2 separate regions of the Homo sapiens genome follow, and region 1 is linked to region 2. Evidence: promoter capture Hi-C in 16 types of primary human blood cells and fetal thymus (Javierre and others, 2016). All regions are on one chromosome and are shown on one strand. The core of a region is centred on a gene start or on the middle of the fragment in contact, and the rest is flanking DNA. Distances in the headings are between cores, read along the strand shown. Region 1 holds the start of TNFAIP8L2 (TNF alpha induced protein 8 like 2). Region 2 holds the start of ADAMTSL4 (ADAMTS like 4).

Region 1 (2,700 bases), core at 184-2,683, 610 kb after region 2:
GACTTCTTCCCCATCTCTGGCTATTAAGTAGTTGAATCTATCTTTCCAAGTCTACCTCTTCAGCCCTATCATAATTAAGCTTCTTTACTCTCAAAATTATTTAAATCTCCATTAAAGTTAATGGCATTGTTTGACTAGTATTACTGTTCTTTATGTTTAAGCTTATTTCCCTCGCCAGATTCCCCATAAGATTCTTGATAGCAAGTGTTTTTGTCTCATTCAACAACTGTGACTTCCAGGATGGGTGCAGTGGCTCACGCCTGTAATCCCAACACTTTGGGAGACTAAGGTAGGAGGATTGCTTGAGCTTAGAAGTTCAGCCTGGGCAACATAGTTAGACCCTCCTCTCTACAAAAAAAAGGAAGGCTTGTGAGCCTCTGGTCCCAGCTACTTGGGAGGCTGAAGTAGGAAGAGCTCTTGAGCCCAGGAGGTCAAGGCTGCAGTCAGCTGTGATGATGCCACTGCACTGTGGCCTGGGCGACAGAGTGAGACCCTATCTCAAAAACAAAACAACAAACAAACAAACAAAACCCAATTGTGGCTTCCCCTCATTTTGTATCCCTTTAGCAGCTACAAAGTAGCTACTACAGTAGCCTACTCAGTAGGCCCTGCGGGGTGCGTTGGCTCACACCTGTAATCCCAGCACTCTGGAAGGCCAAGGTGGATCACCTGAGGTCAGGAGTTCAAGACGATCCTGGCCAACATGGTGAAACCGTCTCTACTAAAAATACAAAATAAGCCAGGCATGGTGGCACAGGCCTGTAATTTCAGCTACTTGGGAGGTTGAGGCAGGAGAATCACTTGAACCCGGGAGGCAGAGGTTGCAGTGAGCCGAGATCACCCCATTGCACTCCAGCCTGGGCAACAAGAGCAAAACTCTGTCTCAAAAAAAAAAAAAAAAAAAAAAAAAAAGGCAACTCAGTAGGCTTGTTCCTCTACGCTAGTGATTCAGTGCTGTGCTGGCACCTGCTGGTCACCTGTGGTGCAGCAGCCCTGGTCCCAGCACCTTCCTCCCTTCAGTATTAAGGGTTGTGACAGTCTGTGCTCTTACCTGGCAATCACTGGAATAATATATTAAATACTTGCCCCACAGCACCACCTTTCAATCTTCAGAACTTTTCCCACTGACCTCCTACCCCAGAAATTTGGGCTTTACATCCTTCCCAGTACTGTAGAAATGTAAGGACAGGATCTTCAGGAACTGGGCAGCAAGAAAAGAAAGAAGCAATTTGAGAGTGGAGGATGCAAATCCCTTTCCCCCCTTCAAAGAATTGAGACTATTTCCAACAGAATTCCACTCTTTTTGACCTTTGTCTTATTTCTAGGTTGCTCTTGGGCCATAGGCCTTCTTGGTGACAGAAGTGATGAACCGGAGGTTAAGCAGAGAGTAGGTAGGCGGGGCTCAAGGGGTGGGGCCAAGCCAAAGGGCTCTCACACTAAGTGAAGCTTCTCCATTCTGTAAGCTTTCCGGGAACATCCAAGGCAAGACTGGCACCCAGCACAGCAGGTGAGGGACCGGCAGTGACAGAATGGTAGACTTTAGGGGTAATGGTGGCAGAGGAATCTCTAGCTCTTTCAGTCTTAGCTTTTCATATTGTGAAACTCTCGCTTGTACAATTCTTGGGTCCTTTGTAGAGCTTAGCTTAGTTTTTCTGGTGGCAAGGCAGCCTCTGAAAGACCTGGTTTTGGATGCGGTGGGGGCAGGGCTGAGGGATGCAGGTGGATCCACATCCATATGGATGTGTGCGAAATGCAAGGAAATCTTAGGAAACAAGGAGATAGATGGGTAAGGGCCAGAGGGAGAGTATGGCCAGGCCAGAGGATCATAGGGAGGACCCAGACAAGAGAAAAAGGGAGACTGAAACAGGGAGAGAGGGAGAAGACAGCGGAATAAATGTGAGACGGCAATGGGGGCAATGGAGAGCTGGGTAACAGGAAGGCCAAGGAGGAAGGAAGGCTCACATGGAGCAATCTCCTCTTCCGGCTGGGGAGCATGGTCCAGAAAGCCCCAAGGCAAGCTGGGAGCAAAGCAAGGTTCAGGTTTCCACTGGAAGGATTCAGCTGGGGAAAAAAACCCCCACAGTCTCCACCTCCTCTGCCTCTTCAGACTCCCATTTTGGTTTGGGGGAGAGGGCGAGGCTGCTCCTCACTGCGGTCACAGCCACATCCTGCAGAGCAGAGGAGGGGGAAGTAAGAAGCAAAACAACCAGAAGAACCACAGGCGAAGACCATGGGGAGAGAACCCTGGACACATGGAGCTGATATGCCACCAAGAGGGTCCTGAGTTCAGTGTAGCAGAAGGCTCAGACCTTCAGGACTGCCTGCCCTTCTTGAGGTGTTGGCTTCTCGTGCTTCCTCAGTGTGCTTTAACCACACTGGGAGCATTCCGGGGAAGGAGGTTTCTCTGGATTATTTGGTTTGAAGCCCATCTTTATAATTTACTAGTGACTTTGGCCAAATTGCTATATTTCTCTTCGCTTCAGTTTTCTCATTGCAAAATGGGGATACCTACCCTAACCTTACACAGGATTGGGAAGGCTAAGATGACTGACGTAAAGCACTTGCATATAGTAGGTTCTCAGTAAATGTTAGTTATTACTCCTATTAGGATTCCTGGGATGCTTATGCTTCTTACTTTAAAGGAAGTATAGTGCACTAGCTGCCACTGGCTTTGGGGGCCAAAAAATGAGTTGCGTTTGA
Region 2 (2,700 bases), core at 26-2,525:
GCTCACGCCTGTAATCCCAGCACTTTGGGAGGCCGAGGCGGACGGATCACGAGGTCAGGAGATCGAGACCATTCTGGCTAACACGATGAAACCCCGTCTCTACTAAAAATACAAAAAATTAGCCGGGCGTGGTGGCAGACGCCTGTAGTCCCAGCTACTCAGGAGGCTAGGGCAGGAGAATGGCGTGAACCTGGGAGGCGGAGCTTGCAGTGAGCCAAGATAGCACCACTGCACTCCAGCCTGGACGACAGAGTGAGACTCCGTCTCAAAAAAAATAAATAAATAATAATATAATAATAATAAACATAACGCAGAGTAAAAAGCAAAAGCCTTTTTCAGTCCTCCCCCAACCCTGCATCCCTCCCCAGATGTCACCAATACTACTGAGTTTGGGGTGCATTCTTCCATGTATAAATGCATAAAGAGACATATCCAAGCCCATCATATATATTAGATTAGTCCCATTTTGCAGATGAGCAAACTGCACCACACAGGGGTGGAAGTATTCGTCGAAGACCACATAGCTGGCAAGAGCTGGAGCTGAGGTTCAAATCCAGATCAGTCTGACTCAGAAGTCAGCACGCTGTCCTTTCGCTGAGTCCCGAGTGTAAAACCTTACTGAGGAAAAAAACCGAAGCTCATAGAAGTCCCAGCAATCTGAACCACCACTGCCCAACACGGGAGAGGCAGGAGTGACTGAGTTTGCAGGGGAGGCTGCGTGGAGGGGAGAGCCTGGACCCACGCGGATCGGGGGCCGCGGGTACCTCCGTCCAGGGCGCTTCCCTCCCGGACCAGCGGCTCTCCCAGGCCGCCTCGCTCCAGGCGCCCCTGGAGGCTGCCCCGCCTGTGCCGCGCCGCGCCGCGCCGTGTTCGCACCGCTCACCCGAGCGGCTCGGAGGCCCGGGTTGCTTAAGTCCCTAGTCTCAGCCGGGCACGAGGACAGCGCCCGGGAGCGACTGCAGCCTCTGACCCCGGCTGGGCCAGCCCGGGCTGCTTAAGTCCCTAGTCTCGGCCGGGCACGAGGACAGCGCCCGGGAGCGACTGCAGCCTCCGACCCCGGCTGGGCCAGCCCGGGCTTCAGCTCACGCAGCCGTCGGGGGGCGCCCGGCGCGCAGCCCGGGGTGGGTGGTCCTGGCGAGTGGGGCTGCGAGGCAGACCGGCCCCACCCCGGGGCCGCCGAGGGGCGCGGGCTGGGGCGCGTGGCGGGCGGGGCTGGGCGGGGGCGGGCGCGAGGGCGGAGTTGCGGCCGAGGCGGCCGTGACCGGAGCGCGGCTCAGGGGCCCCAGTGGCCGCCGCGGAGCGAGGTTGCCTGGAGAGAGCGCCTGGGCGCAGAAGGGTTAACGGGCCACCGGGGGCTCGCAGAGCAGGTAGAGACCTCCCCGGGACCCCGGCCCCGGCCGCCCCTCTCCCGGGTCCCGTTAGACCGCCCGCCCCGCGCGCCCGCGTCGTCCCCTCTCCCTGCGCTGTGCGGTCGCGACCCCGCCACGACCCCGGACCCAGCTCCGGTGGCCTCGGACAATCTTCCAGCCCCTGGGGTCGAATTCCTGGGGAGGGAGTCTGATCCCGTGGAACTCTGGCCCCATCACCCGGGCGGGGAGTGAACCAAAATTCCTCCTAAGTCACATAGTAAAGTTGGAAAACAGACCCATGACCTCCCCGCGCGGCCGGTGCCTCCTGCCCTCTCTCTAGGAGGGTGCTCTCGGACGGTGTGTCCCCCACTGCACTCCTGAACTTGGAGGACAGGGTCGCCGCGAGGGACGCAGGTGGGTGCCCTTGATCCAGCTCAGCCCGATGGCAGAAGAGGTTGACAAAAAAGAAAGACACCTGTTGGGGTGGCCTGCCAGACCCAGGAGTGGAGGGCTCTGAGGGCCCGGGAATTCGGACTCAGGACAGGGATTCTCCATGGCTAGGCCCAGAAACACAGGGTCCAACCACTCTCCAGCAGGGAGACCTGGGGGTGAAGGGGTGAGCCCTGCGCAGGTCTCTGTTCCTTGGTCTTCACTGGGCAGTGTGGAGAGGTGTGGCCAGGAGGAGCCCGCGTTTGTCCAGACCAGGGTCTACTCTGGCACCAGAGTGACCACCTCTGACCTCTCCTTTCCTCGTCCTGGGCCGGGAACGACACCAAATGAGGGACATGGAAAGGGGTGAGAAGCATAAATGTGCGTGTGTTTCTGCAGAGGAGGGGGCATGGGCCCCTGCCGGGCTGCGCAGGGGAGGGTGGGGTGGGACTTTTCCAGAGAGGGAGCCAGGCCTGGCCCGGGCCCCGGGAGCTCACGTCACCCCCACCCCTCACTTCTCCAGGGAACTGCCAAAGCCAAACCCAGCTCGGGATGGGATTATGTGTACTGGGTAGACCCGTGGAGAGGGGCTGCGAGAAGAGATCTCGGTGGCAGAGAGAAGCAGAGGCAGAGAGGGCATGAAGAGGGGTCGGCATCAGAGAAGGGGCAGGCAGTGACTATCACCCCATTTCTTCTTCCCTCAGCTGGAGTAACAAGAGTCAGGCAGAGCCTGAAGACTTGGGTGGAACATGGGCCCTTCTCTGGAGATCCTGGCCTCCCCCGTTCAGTCAGGGTGGAGTTGCTGACCTTAGTGGCCGGCCCAGCCAGGGGAAGGAGTGGCCATCGGCAACCCCCACCCCAACCCCAATCCCTGAGGCGCCCGCTCTGGCTCAGCCACTCTGACCCCTCCCTCAAATTCCGA

What was found. Contacts are between HindIII fragments. The CHiCAGO score rates a contact against its expected background, and 5 or more counts as called.
Region 1: a contact is called between the fragment with the promoter of TNFAIP8L2 here and the fragment with the promoter of ADAMTSL4 in region 2, in 1 of 17 cell types (erythroblasts). The highest score is 5.2, in erythroblasts.

Annotation. Positions count from the first base shown.
Region 1 is chr1:151,155,216-151,157,915 of GRCh38, forward strand. It overlaps TNFAIP8L2 (TNF alpha induced protein 8 like 2), which reads left to right and starts at 1,434. Exons shown (of 2, transcript NM_024575.5): 1 at 1,434-1,507. It overlaps TNFAIP8L2-SCNM1 (TNFAIP8L2-SCNM1 readthrough), which reads left to right and starts at 1,434. Exons shown (of 7, transcript NR_144937.2): 1 at 1,434-1,507. It also overlaps a transcript of LYSMD1 not described here. The HindIII fragment of the contact is 1,285 bases long and covers 160-1,444 here.
Region 2 is chr1:150,548,133-150,550,832 of GRCh38, forward strand. It overlaps ADAMTSL4 (ADAMTS like 4), which reads left to right and starts at 1,276. Exons shown (of 19, transcript NM_019032.6): 1 at 1,276-1,367; 2 at 1,690-1,763. It overlaps LOC124904417, which reads left to right and starts at 2,158. Exons shown (of 1, transcript XM_047438226.1): 1 at 2,158-2,700. The coding sequence starts at 2,158. ADAMTSL4-AS2 (ADAMTSL4 antisense RNA 2) reads right to left here. Exons shown (of 6, transcript NR_187269.1): 6 at 432-618. RefSeq lists silencers at 461-755, 687-836, 1,007-1,146 and an enhancer at 2,482-2,700. The HindIII fragment of the contact is 42,411 bases long and covers 1-2,700 here.